Linked DNA regions of Homo sapiens: regions 1, 3, 4 and 5 are each linked to region 2. The links are contacts of gene promoters, found by promoter capture Hi-C in blood cells and fetal thymus (Javierre and others, 2016). All regions are on one chromosome and are shown on one strand. The core of a region is centred on a gene start or on the middle of the fragment in contact, and the rest is flanking DNA. Distances in the headings are between cores, read along the strand shown. Region 1 overlaps GNB4 (G protein subunit beta 4). Region 2 holds the start of ACTL6A (actin like 6A). Region 3 overlaps GNB4 (G protein subunit beta 4). Region 4 overlaps MFN1 (mitofusin 1). Region 5 overlaps MFN1 (mitofusin 1).

What was found. The method cuts DNA at HindIII sites, captures the fragments that hold promoters and counts their contacts. A CHiCAGO score of 5 or more calls a contact.
Region 1: a contact is called between a fragment that was not itself captured here and the fragment with the promoter of ACTL6A in region 2, in 4 of 17 cell types (M1 macrophages, total B cells, M0 macrophages and 1 more). The highest score is 7.6, in M1 macrophages.
Region 3: a fragment that was not itself captured here is called in contact with the fragment with the promoter of ACTL6A in region 2 in 6 of 17 cell types (M1 macrophages, M0 macrophages, M2 macrophages and 3 more); the score reaches 11.6 in M1 macrophages.
Region 4: a contact is called between a fragment that was not itself captured here and the fragment with the promoter of ACTL6A in region 2, in 4 of 17 cell types (M2 macrophages, M1 macrophages, M0 macrophages and 1 more). The highest score is 10.3, in M2 macrophages.
Region 5: a fragment that was not itself captured here is called in contact with the fragment with the promoter of ACTL6A in region 2 in 2 of 17 cell types (M1 macrophages and monocytes); the score reaches 7.5 in M1 macrophages.

What each region holds. Positions count from the first base shown.
Region 1 is chr3:179,399,163-179,401,862 of GRCh38, forward strand. It overlaps GNB4 (G protein subunit beta 4), which reads right to left. Exons shown (of 10, transcript NM_021629.4): 10 at 1-2,157. The coding sequence ends at 2,051. Among named protein-coding and RNA genes, the nearest start is that of GNB4, 51 kb to the right of the region's middle. The HindIII fragment of the contact is 949 bases long and covers 971-1,919 here.
Region 2 is chr3:179,561,559-179,564,258 of GRCh38, forward strand. ACTL6A (actin like 6A) reads left to right here and starts at 1,368. Exons shown (of 14, transcript NM_004301.5): 1 at 1,368-1,559. The coding sequence starts at 1,535. RefSeq lists a silencer at 1,230-1,459. The HindIII fragment of the contact is 9,325 bases long and covers 1-2,700 here.
Region 3 is chr3:179,416,902-179,419,601 of GRCh38, forward strand. It overlaps GNB4 (G protein subunit beta 4), which reads right to left. Exons shown (of 10, transcript NM_021629.4): 4 at 2,498-2,604. Among named protein-coding and RNA genes, the nearest start is that of GNB4, 33 kb to the right of the region's middle. The HindIII fragment of the contact is 1,755 bases long and covers 440-2,194 here.
Region 4 is chr3:179,379,836-179,382,535 of GRCh38, forward strand. All of the region lies in intron 14 of MFN1 (mitofusin 1), which reads left to right. Among named protein-coding and RNA genes, the nearest start is that of MFN1, 33 kb to the left of the region's middle. The HindIII fragment of the contact is 1,542 bases long and covers 566-2,107 here.
Region 5 is chr3:179,361,875-179,364,574 of GRCh38, forward strand. It overlaps MFN1 (mitofusin 1), which reads left to right. Exons shown (of 18, transcript NM_033540.3): 5 at 484-608; 6 at 2,423-2,531. Among named protein-coding and RNA genes, the nearest start is that of MFN1, 16 kb to the left of the region's middle. The HindIII fragment of the contact is 4,299 bases long and covers 1-2,700 here.

The DNA of each region.
Region 1 (2,700 bases), core at 195-2,694, 160 kb before region 2:
TAGCCTACAAATAAACATTAATAGCAAAAGTTCATATAATTTTTTTTTTTTCCAATTTGAGATGGAGTCTCACTCTGTCGCCTAGGCTGGAGTGCAGTGGCACAATCTCGGCTCACTGCAACCTCTGCCTCCCGGGTTCAGGCGAATCTCCTGCCTCAGCCTCCCGAGTAGCTGGGATTACAGGAATGTGCCACCACGCCCGGCTAATGTTTGTATTTTTAGAAGAGATGGGGTTTCACCATGTTGGGTAGGCTGGTCGCGAACTCCTGACCTCAAGTGATCTGCCCACCTTGGCCTCCCAAATTGCTGGGATTATAGGTGTAAGCCACTCTGCCCAGCCAAAAAGTTAATAGAAATCTTAATCAAAATATAAATATACATTCATAACTGCCATCTACAATATTCTGTTTTGGTCCTATATCTTAATTTGCCTTTATCCACTTTATTATTCTAATTGTCAACTGATTTTAATAAAACTGATACATCTTTACAGTTGATGCACATATTAGCACATTCACAACATAAAAACAAAAATTTAGAGGTAAAGTTTGGGAGTATTTAGGTTAAGTTACACATGTTCAAAAGTTAACACAGACCTATCTGAAAAGTAACTAAGTTACAAAACAATGCACGTCTATATATCAGAATAATCCAAGACTTTACCATCAAGCAAGACTAACAATCTTCTATTATCAGTCATTTAGACTTATTTGTAAAAGAGAATCCAACAGGAAAAGTATCTTTAACTTGGTCGTGGGGGACTTCTAGTAAGAGACACATTATTATACCACAGAAAAACTGTTTAATATAGCTCTCTAACTCCTTTAAGAACTGCTTTAGGAATTTTTATTTTGGCTTTAAGTGGAATCACTTACATCTAGACATCCTTTGAAGCAAAACCACTTAGAAACCAGTATTTTGTGCTAAGGAAGGGAAGAAATACTACAAAATGTTGCAAAACAGAACAAAAAGCTTAAAGGTTTAAGAAATTTAAAGGCACAGATATTTCACATCAATTCAGATTTTATAGTATGCAAACATGAAATAAACCACCGTATTACAACAAATATGTGCTAGCGATTGGTTAGATTTCACACTTCTCTCCAAATGTAACACTGTCACATTGCATTTCCTCTCTAGATGTATACTGATAGCACTGGGAAAGATGTTCAGATGCAGGGACAATCCCAATGTTTACCAAACTTCTGAAAGATGAGTATACGCTACAAACTTAGTTCCAAATATGAAATGAAAAGGAAAGTCCAGCTATTTAGGGGGGTACTCAAAGTGTCAACTGATCATAACCAGGCTTTTAAAATGTCAAGAACCATTTATATGCTATTACCTACTTTTTATTAATTATAATGATGTTTCTTATGTATGTCCAAAATATCAGTGAAATCTCTAATCTCTGGCCTTCAGATTATCTGTCCCCTCAAAGGACTGAAAGCAAGCACTTTGATTAATAGTATATGGCAAATGATGCATGAGAAACAATGAACTCCCCTCAGAGGTGCCCCACCTGTCAATGCTCTTAAACATGAAGCTATCAGGATCTCTTAGATTCAAAGAGATATCAGAATTCAAGGGGACTTTCTTCAGACATAAATACACACACATACAGTATCATTTCTGTCTGTTTCTGTGCCTGGTTCTTCCATTACAAAACTCAAAAATATGACATTTCTTGTGTATACAAAGTTAAAAATGTACTTCTTAAAAAATGCAAACACAATGGCGAGCTGCTATAATGTGTACATTCTGTTCTACACAAAGAAAATACACTCTGAGTACACACAACAATTCACCAAGGTTAAAATAACCCAACCCCTCAAATTAATACACTGGTCCTTTTGATCTCAGAAGGCGCCTTTGCCTTTTTTCCTCCACCCCCACTTTTTTTTTGGTAGTTTACTGAAAGCTTGTTTTTGTAGATAATCTAATAGAAAAATCTTCACCTGCAAATATAAGGTAGAATTTTTTCACAGCTATAGGCTGTAGCATTGATTTCTCCAGATATATCAATGGAGAACAAATATGTATGACACTGTTAATTCCAGATTCTAAGAAAACTGTCCCAAGAGCCTGTTGCCACAGCCATGCCATCATCAGTTACACCTAAGCAGCTCACACGGTTGTCATGACCAGCAAGGACACCTGAAAAAAAAATTCAGTAAAAAATTGGCAATTGTAGGGTTTTAGAATTAAACAAGTATATGCAGAGATTTAAAAGGGTGCTTATAAACTATCAGTCCAGTTTTCTTGAAAGTTCATCAGTTAAAAAATAATAATAATTTAAAAGAAAACAACAAATTTCTCTGAGTAAGAAGACAAGTTAGGAGTAAGCTGGATGTATTTATAAATTTGGATTATTTGAATTTTGACATGCATCAATTTGTGGTTTTAATTTTTGAAAAATCATCTTATAATTCAACTTATATCTAGGAAAACATATGCAGACAATTATTCCACATCTCTAATAAGTTCTCGATATTCCAAATTTTGCTACTGAGCTATGTATGCTATTCTCAACAAAAACAAGATTTTCAATGAAGTTCACTGAAGGAGCCCTTCACCACAGGAACGACAAAAACGTAAGAACAAAGCTGCCTCACATCACTGCTTCCAAGAATACCAACATAATTCATTTACTTTCTTATGCTAATCACCAAACTCTGGAATGTTATTGGTTATAACTTT
Region 2 (2,700 bases), core at 118-2,617:
CACTGTGATTATATTGTCAAGTGAATGGGAAAGAGTTTTCCCGCTAGCCTTTTTTCCCACCCTACTGCCTCATCACTTTCTGCCACCCTCTGCCACTGAGACTGATGGGGTTTTAGTCAATCGTTTCTAAGGTTAAAAGTAGGCACTGCATGTCTAGACTCTAGACAAGGATCAATTACAAGGATAGGCAGCAATCTTAAGGGTTTGAGCGCTGGAGTGTCCTGATCGGGTTTGGGCGTTTTCACAGATGAAGCTCCCTTGATCAAGAGTGGCAAAGGGACACAGCAACAAGTTGTTGCAGTAATCTGGGGATAAAGGAAGGTGATCTGGACTAGGCTGGTAGAAATAGGGGACTAAGGCTGTTTTTGGGATGCCTATTTAGGATTGGGTGCTTGCTTGAATGAAGATTGATTAGCTGTTTTAAATACCTCTCACAGGATAAAAGAAATTGATTTTTTTTTTTTTTGAGACAGAGTCTTGCTCTGTCGCCCAGGCTGGAGTGCAGTGGCGCAATCTCGGCTCACTGCAACCTCTGCCTCCCGGGTTCAAGCGACTCTCCTGCCTCAGCCTCCTGCGTAGCTGGGACTACAGGCCCGGCTACTTTTCTCATTTTTAGTAGACACAGGGTTTCACTGTGTTGCCTAGGCTGGTCTCGAACTCCTGACCTTGTGATCTGCCCGCCTCGGCCTACCAAAGTGCTCGGATTACACGCATGAGCCACCACGCCCGGCCTGAAATTTTTTTTTTTTTTTAAAGAAATGAGTAAGTTTTTTAATAGTTTTTAAAGCGCTACCTAGGTTTAGCTGGGATACCGCATAATTTCATTCTTCTTTTACTTATTAATAACCATTTTAAAAACTGCAAGATCCTATCAATTTGTCTGATTTACTGATTCCCCTATCCCAAAGTGGAGCGCAAAATTTTTACTTTTTCAACATAAAAGTTAGTTTAAAATACTTTTTCTGAAGAAAAAAAGAAAGAAATCCGCATTCCCCACAGTCACTGGACAGGAATCTCGGCGTGGAGACACCCGTTCAATTTCCAGGGGTCTACCTTCCCCTACCCGGGTTCCCGCCGCTCCTCAGCGCCCAGACGCACCTCCTAGTCCCGCCCCCATGCTTCTTCCAGCCTTCCTCCTTCTTCTCCCACTGCCTCCGCCCATTCCCTCGCCCACCCGGGAAGCTCCGCCCCCTCCAGCTCCGCAACCCAACTCCTTCTGTCCTGCTGTCGCTTTCCTCTTTCCCGCCCCCATGGCTGCCTTCGATTGGCTAAACCTGCTGGGCCGCGGCGGGGATGCGGCGCAGCCGCATTCTGATTGGCTAGACTTAGGCCTGGACCCTAGTGATTGGCTGATAGGAGGAGCCAGCAAGTGTGGCTGAGCTCCGGGGTGTGTGGACGCCGCTTTGTTGCCTGAGGTGGGTGGCGGTGGAAGTTAAGGGAGTCAGGGGCTATCGCTCCTCGAGACTCGCAGTCGCGGCCACTGCAGTCACTTCGCCAGTTAGCCCTTAGGGTAGGAGTCGCGCCGGCAGCAGCCATGAGCGGCGGCGTGTACGGGGGAGGTGAGTGAGTGCGGCCGGACGAGAGAGCGCGCCTTTTCGGCGTGTGGGGTTTGTAACCGCCGCTCCCAGCCCTCCCCTCCCCGGCGTTCCCTTCCGGTCTCCCCCTCTCGGGACCCCGGCCTCCCCGCCCCGTCCCCGCCCCACGCTCTGCCCGCCCCCGGAGCCCACCCGGCTCGCCGTGCTCCTCGGGCTCCCTGAAGTGGCGGCTCTCTGTGGCCTCTTCCTGCCTCTGTCCCCGGAGGAGCAGGGTTTTGGGGTGCGCGCTCGGTTCTCTAGGGAGCCTCGGGGCTGGGCGGGAGGCTCAGTCTAGCCGGCCGCCGGGCCCCGGCTTGGGTGACCGCCCCAGGGTCGCATCTCCCCGAGTGCCTCCTGGACTCAGCTGTGTCGGGACGCGTGTGCGCCCGCCTAAACTTGGAAGGTCCCGGCGGTTTGCAAGCGTGGACGGAGGGTTCCCAGAGTGTCCCATAGGTGGCAAAGCGAGCCTCAAGCCGTAGAACTGACTAGGGAAGCGGCGGCCACTTAGGGTACTGCCTCCTCCCCGTCTGCGCCCCATGCGCGAGCTGCCTCACCTTTCAGTAACTCTTGCCTGTTTTTTGGCTGCGGAGTCTCCAGAGTGACTCGTGGGCGGGTCTGTTTGAGATCAATTCAGGAGCACGTGTAATTTAAGGATGCCCAGAAAGTTTGCTGGGGGTCCTAGGCGTGTTATTTTTTCACTTTCTTTGATTAGACTGTGGTGTGGTAGGAAGATTACCAGGTGCCGGGGGTTACAGACCTGGGTTGAAATATCCACCTCACTCTTTATTAAGCGCTTTGGTCTTGGGCAGTTTATGTAACTTTCCAACTTCAGGCCTCATTTATGGAATAATTCCTAGCCGATGGGGGTGGGCATGAAGGTTAAATGAAATAATGCTGCATTTGCCACTTAAAGTCTGGCCCATGGACCAGCAGTGTCAGCATCACCTGCAAGCCTGTTAGAAATGCAGGATCTCACGCGTCATTCAGAATCTACTGATTTAGAGCCTCCATTTTTGCAAGATCTGCAGGTTAATCGAAACACTGATACATATAATTCATGTGTTGGGTTGTGTTTGATGAGTTAGAGACCCAGAAAACAAATCCAGACTATTGCTGTTGTTACTGT
Region 3 (2,700 bases), core at 67-2,566, 140 kb before region 2:
GCCTAACAACCATATTTCATCCAATCTAAAAACACCAATTGAGAGCCTGAGAATATGACAATACTAGAGGTACAACGCAGGATACATCGCCTGCTCTTGAGGCCTCTACCATCTGGTGAAGATAAGACATTTACTCATATTTATATTAAATCAAGTAAGTAAAAACTGTCAGAAGAGGGGTATAAAATAAATGCCACAGGAGAGTAAAGGAGGAACAATGGCTAGATGAGTTAATCACAAGAGAATGAGTCTTGAAAGAAAATGTTGAGAGCTAAAGATACAGAAAAGGCTGTATTTTAGGAGAAAGCTATGTAAGATCAATGACAGGTAGAAAAATACACTGAGTGTTGTTTCAGGAATTGTGGGTCTTCCAGTAGTACAGTTTGTGAGAAAATGGAAAAATAAGTTGAGAAAAGCAGACTGGGCTTAAACTGCAGAAAGCTTTGTTAAACTAAAGAGTATGAACTCCTAAGTAATTTTAGCCACTAAATTTTTTGTTTTGTTTGGATTTTTTTTTTTTTTTTGAGACAGACACTCACTGTGACACCCAGGTTAGAGTGCAATGGCACGATCTCAGCCCACTGCAACCTCCGCCTCTCAGGTTCAAGTGATTCTCCTGCCTCAGCCTCCCGAATAGCTGGCATAACAGGTGTGCACCACCACGACTGGTAAGATGGGATCTCAACATGTTGGTCAGGCTGGTCTTGAACTCTTGACCTCAAGTGATCCACTCGCTTGGCCTCCCAAAGTTCTGGGATTACAGGCATGAGCCACCATGCCCAGCCTTGTTTGGAATTTTTACTTTTCACCATGGTGTAAAATTCAAAAAATAAAAAAGGATATACAGAAGAAAATTTAAAAAGCACCTTCCTGGGCCTATCATCAGCCACCCAGTTCCTTTCCCTAGAGGTAAATAACATTATCAGATTCTTGGGTAGCAATCACTACAAGGTTTTACAAAAGGGAAGATCTATCTGATAGTGGGGTATAGGATGGCATCTAAAGAAAATTCTTTAGAAATCAATTGGCATCATCAGCATAAGAGTTGAGGAGAACATTAAGTAATGGATTGATAACACGGATGGGTGGGAAGACTATGTGAGATAGGTTCCTGGATGATGGTTTCATTTTTCTATGAAGATTAACAGTCTTCAGAAAACGTTTAAGGAAAGCAAGAACCATAAACATTGTTTCAAGTTACTATATTTTAAGTTAAAATTTTGCTTTATCAACAGGTAAATTATTTTTATCTTCAACTCCTTTAAGAAAAAGAATAAGACATTCGGCCAGGCGCGGTGGCTCACACCTGATTAATCCCAGCACTTTGGGAGGCTGAGGCGGTTGGATCACCTGAGGTCAGGAGTTCAAGACCAGGCTGGCTAACATGGTGAAACCCCCTCTCTACTAAAAATACAAAAATTAGTCAGGCGTGGTTGTGGATGTCTGTAATCCCAGCTACTTGGGAGGCTGAAGCAGGAAAATCCCTTGAACCTGGGAGGCAGAGGTTGCAGTGAGCCGATACCACACCATTGTACTCCAGCCTGGGCAACAAGAGTGAAACTCTGTCTCAAAAAAAAAAAAAAAAAAGAAAAAAGAAAAGAAAAAGAAAAAGATTAAGACATTATGTCAGTTGCCAATTATATAATTTTATGTATCCCTTCGTAAGAGGCACATGTTCTATATTATTGTGGTCAAGTATCCCAATTAGAGCAACAATTGAGGCTTCTTCTACTTTATAATTTTAGTGTCTCCTGGGAGAAGAGAATAAATGTGCAACTTCTATTAAAACATAGAAGTTTCTTGGTTTAGGCATTTCCCATTAAGATTAACCAAATCAAAGGAACAAGTAAACCACTGTGATAGCAGACACATCTGCTATTGCCAGACAATGGAAAAACATAGGCTGTGCTGTAGCCTTATACACATAGTGAATGACAGTGATGAGCAATCTATCTAACTGTAGGCCACGTAGCAGCTGTGCGTGTGCCTGTGCACCTGCAGATGGTCAGCTTGCACATTCAAGCACACACCTTTCTGTGATGCAGTCGAGGGAGTAAAAGATGTATTCAGTACAAACACCTTTGTTTCATGTAATTTCCATTATTTGCGAATTTATGTAATAACAAACTATAGCAATATCCAAAAACTTGCACATAGGTGTTCAATACGTATTTGCTTATGAACTGAAATTTCAAGCTTCATATACAGTAAAAACGCTTTGTGCCTATTTAAAAAACAAAGAATGTCTGCAATGTTCCACTGCAAAGAAAAGGAATCCTCTTCTGAACAGTTGTCCTGGATTCCATATTAAAAATGTTTATACTTTTAAAGAGTCAATTAATATTCTTATTGAAAGCAGCATGTTCATCTGAGATGCATTTTCTGCAAACGCTTCATGAATATATTCTGTTTTTAAACAAAGAAAATGCAAATGATGGTTCTTAATGAAAATAATTCTGCAACAGTTTAAAAATGACAGGTAATGACAGGTACAAACCTGGAATCGTATCCCCAATGCATAGCATAGATTTTAGCTAGGTGGCCCCTCAGTGTACGTCTTGTTCGCATTTGTATTCGACCCACAGAGTCCATATTTGATGTAATCTTTTGAAAGCAACAAAAATGTTATTCTTTACCTTAATCATAGTTCATGAGATAACTTGAACTAGAAACAGTGAGGAGTTAAAAAAGCAAACATAA
Region 4 (2,700 bases), core at 87-2,586, 180 kb before region 2:
AGAAAGAACAACTTTCCTAAAGTTGTTCTTTAGGACTAAACTGTTGAAGTTCCATGCTAAAAATGATGACAGAAGTTAATGAAAAAAACAAAAACACTGCAGAAAGTTAAAAACGAAGATCTTGATCATGCATTGAAAGAGTGGATCCATCAGCATTGCAGTGAACACGTGCCACTTAAGGACATGCTGATCATGAAATAAACATCTATTAAAATGAACTGAAAATCGAAGGGAACTGTGAGTATTCAATAGGCTGGTTAGAGAAATTTAAGGTAAGATAGCATTAACTTTTCTAAAGGTTTGTGGTGTTAAAGCATCTTGATCACAAAACAGCAGAGAAATTCATTGATGAATTTGCCAAGATTGTCTCTGATGAAAATCTGACTCCAGAACAAGTCTATAATGCTGATGAAACATCACTGTTTTGCCATTATTGACCCAGAAAGACACTGACTACAGCTGAGGAGACAGCCCCTACAAGAATAAAGGATGCAAAGAACAGAATAACTGTGCTGGGATGTGCTAATGCAGCAGGCATAAATGTGAACTTACTGTGATAGGCAAAAGCTTGCATCCTCACTGTTTTCAAGGAATGCATTTTTTTTACTAGTCCATTATTGTACTAACAAAAAGGCATGGATCCCTAGGGACATCTTTTCTGATTGGTTTCACAAACATTTTATACCAGCTTGTGTGCACTTGCAGGGAAGCTAGGCCGGATGATGACTGCAAGATTTTGTTATTCCTTGACAACTATTCTGCTCATCGTCTAGCTGAAATTCTTATTAAAAAAAGTGTTTCATTATTTCAACCTTGTGACCAGGGTATTCTACGATCAATGAAGAGTAAATACAAAAACCTTTTTTGGGCAGCATGCTAGCAGCAGTGAACTGAGGCCTGGGTGTGGAAGGTTTTCAGAAGGAGTTTAGAATGAAAGATGCCATAGATGCTTTTGCCAGCACAAGGAGTTTAGGATGAAGGATGCCATATATGCCAGCACTTGGAAGACAGTGACTCAGTTGTGTATGCCTGCAGCCTCTGCCTGTCACTACATTTATTGATGATGAGGAGCAAATTGGTGACTTTGAAGTATGTCAAGTGAGCTCCTTATGCAAAAAATAATATCTTCAGAGTCCATCCGTAAGCTGGAAGAAGGATATATCAAAGAAGTGTTTGACATTGATAATGAGGTTTCAGTTGTTCATTCATTAACTGATGGCAAAATAGCTAAAATGCTTCTAAATCAAGGTGATTATGATAATGGTGATAATGAAGATGATTTCATTGACCTCGCAGAACAACTGCCTATAGGCAGCATGGTGATGGGCTTATTGAAGCACTAGAGCAGCATGTATTCATAACAGAACAAGAAATAGGTTTATAAAATCAAGGAGAGACTTCAACAAAAACCATTGTTAAAGAGGCAAGTAGGTGGTACTGCAGGAAACATTTTAAAAGGCCATTCAGCACAATGTCTTATTATGCCGAGAGGACCCACTTCTTGGTCCCTCAACTGCTTCTGATGTTTCTTCTCACCTAACAAAGTACTGTGTACCGGAACTTTTTAATCAAAACATAACATTGTAGGTAGAGACTGAAAGCCTGCCATTGTTGCTGTTTAACAGCTGATACAGGTGTTCTGGTGATGCCACTGTGCTGCTTAGTTTGAATACGTTATTTTTCACTGTTATTAATGGTGTGTCTTATATTTTTACTATTAAGTTCCTTTGTGTGAATCCGTGTAAGAAAATGATTGCTTGTCAGTAGTATGTAAATTCAATCAAGAATGATGGTGATGCCAAACAACCATAGAGTGTTCACATGGGTGGCTGACATAGCAACACCTGTGTTTTCTGATAAGTCAGTGTACACAACCTTTGTTTCATGCACAAAATTATTTAAATATTGGATAAAATTACCTTCAGGCTATGCATATAAGGTATATGAAGCATAAATGAATTTTGTGTTTGGACTTGGGTCCCATCCTCAAGATAGCTCATTATATCTATGAAATATTCAAAAATCCTAAAAAATCTGAAATCTGAAACACTTCTGGTCCCAAGCATTTTGGATAAGGGACACTCAACCTGTAGTATGCTTAAGGGAAAGCTTATCCTAAAGCTTTCGTCCAATACTGTTGCAGGTGGTGCTACATTCATTTTTGAAACATTTCTGTTTTCTTAAAAGATTTGGTTTTCACATTTCAAATAAACTAGCATAAATACAAGCATTTTTTTAATTTTTTTTTATTATACTTTTAAGTTCTAGGGTACATGTACACAACGTGCAGGTTTGTTACATATGTATACATGTGCCATGTTAGTGTGCTGCACCCATTAACTCATCATTTACATTAGGTATATCTCCTAATGCTATCCCTCCTCCTTCCTCCCATCCCACAACAGGCCCCGGGGTGTGATGTTCCCCTTCCTGTGTCCAAGTGTTCTCATTGTTCAATTCCCACCTATGAGTGAGAACATGCAGTGTTTGGTTTTTTGTCCTTGCAATAGTTTGCTGAGAATGATGGTTTCCAGCTTCATCGATGTCCCTACAAAGGACATGAACTCATCATTTTTTATGGCTGCATAGTATTCCATGGTGTATATGTGCCACATTTTCTTAATCCAGTCTATCATTGTTGGACATTTGGGTTGGTTCCAAGTCTTTGCTATTATGAGTAGTGCTGCAGTAAACATATGT
Region 5 (2,700 bases), core at 162-2,661, 200 kb before region 2:
TTTTCTGTTTCTGCATTAATTGACTTAGGATAATGGCCTCCAGCTCCATCCATGTTCCTGCAAAAGACTTGATTTCATTCCTTTCTATGGGGTGTTAAAAGCTATGTAATTTTAACCTGTTTTAATAATGACATTTCTTCTAATGACATTTCTTCCATATGACTAAGTGATACACATTTATTTCAGTAGAATCAGAAAATACAAATAGGCAAAAAGAACAGAGACTCCAGAACTTATATACTTCACAAAATCAGTATCAGGAGTTGCTTAGAATTCTGTTGCTGGAGTTCTTTTTGAGGGAACCATTTTTTTTCTACTTGGAAATTTAAAAATTCAGGTTCTCAAGATTGCTCAGAAGGTTTTATTTCAGAGTTTTACCTTTTATATACCTGTTTTGCTAAAATAAATGTACCACAATGTTTTTAATTTTTATTGAATTTTATTACAAGTGGAGTTTATTTTTTTCTTTTCCTCCTGCTTTAGACAGTTAATCAACTGGCCCATGCCCTTCACATGGACAAAGATTTGAAAGCTGGCTGTCTTGTACGTGTGTTTTGGCCAAAAGCAAAATGTGCCCTCTTGAGAGATGACCTGGTGTTAGTAGACAGGTAAAATTACATGTGGATTGCATTTTCTCTGGAAGTTTATTTAATAGTATAATACTGCTTACTTTAGCATATGGTATAAAAAATTACAACATTCAGTTGCCATTTTGTTCTCATTAGCTAGATTAAGGAAGAGATATGGTATTGGTTTTATTTTATAAGTTACATAAAAGCACCAATTCATCACTCTGATTCCATTTCAAGAAATTTTAAGGATGGCCACTTTTTTTGGCCAGAGTGCAGTGCCGCAGTGCCACGATCTTGGCTCACTGCAACCTTCGCCTGCCGGGTACAAGTGATTCTCCCACCTCAGTCTCCTGGGTAGCTGGGATTACAGACACACACCAGCCACCTCACCTGGCTCCATTTTGTTTTTGATAATGGATTTTCCTTTTAAATGGAAATGAGTGTTTCAAGTAATCCATAGAAACAGAGGAGAGAGAAGATGTTCATGACACCAAGATATTTGGTTTAAATACAATGTTAACTAGTTTAGCTTTATTTCATAGCCAGATTGTATCTATGACCCAGTCAGTCAAGATTGACAGTTGGATAGATACAAGAAAATATGAATGAGATCTAGTATTTGGTACCAAAATGGGTAACGGTAGTGAAAAATAATTGATTTTTATTTATTTTTTTGAGACAGAGTCTCACTCTGTCACCTAGGCTGGAGTACAGTGGCGCAGTGTCAGCTTGCTGCAACCTCCCCCTCCGGGGTTCAAGCCATTCTTGTGCCTCAGCCTCCTGAGTAGCCACCACGCCTGGCTAATCTTTGTATTTTTTGGTAGAGACGGGGATTCACCATGTTGGCCAGGCTGGTCTCAAACTCCTGGCTTCAAGTAATCCCCCCATCTCAGCCTCCCAAAGTGCTGAAATGACAGGTGTGAGCTGCCGTACCTGGCTGAATAACAATTTAATTGTACATTTAAAAATAACTAAAAGAATATAATTGTATTGTTTGTAATACAAAGAATAAATGCTTGAGGTGATAGATACCTCGTTTACCACGTGATTTTTTTTTTTTTCGGAGGCAGGGTCTTGCTGTGTTGCCCAGTCTGGAGTGCAGTGGTGGGATCATGGCTTATTGCAAACTCCGCTTCCCAGTCTTAAGCAACCCTTCCACCTCAGCCACCAGAGTAGCTGGGGCTACAGGGGCATGCCACCAAGCCTAGCTAATTTTTTTTTTGTGTATGTGGAGTCAGGGTTTTGTCATGTTGCTCAGGCTGGTCTCAAAGTCCTGGACTCAAACTCCCGCCTTGGCATCCCAAAATGCTAGGATTATAGGAATATGCCACTGCACTCAGCCCCTGATGTGATTATTACACATTGTATGCTTGTATCAAAATACTTCATATACCTCATAAATATGTATACTTAATTAATATATACCCATAAAAATTTTAAATGAATAAATTTTTTAACTTTTTACAAATATTTATTGTTGGCAAATTCTTCACTGCAGCTCCTAGTACAGTTGGTATATTAAATTTATATTTTTTTATTTGTGTTTATAAGTGCTTAAATCATCTCTGAGCCATACTGGATATAGCTGCTTGAACCCTCATTGTTTAGTATCTATTAGCCTAGTTTTATATTTCAGCCATCTAAAGCATAAACATTAAAAAGATTGAAATATTGAGCATGTTATTTGCTTTGTCAAAGATCACTAAGTTAAAATTTCCTAGACTTCTTACAGATGACAGCTGGAAATCCTGGTTTTTAAACTTCAAATTATATATAAAAGCTGAAAAAATTCTGTAACCCAAATTTTCTTTTTAAGAAATATAATACAATTTTTATTTCACTCTCATTAGTCCAGGCACAGATGTCACTACAGAGCTGGATAGCTGGATTGATAAGTTTTGCCTAGATGCTGATGTCTTTGTTTTGGTCGCAAACTCTGAATCAACACTAATGAATACGGTAGGATTTAATCATATTATTGTGTTTCGATGGTAGGAAATGAAATGGTATCTGTTTTAATTCTGAAAAGCAAGGGAAATCCATATCGTGGATTAGAAAAAACTTCTAAAAACAGGCATGAATGAAGGGGTTTGTGTTTTCATAGAACCAGAAGGGCTGTTTCTAGTCT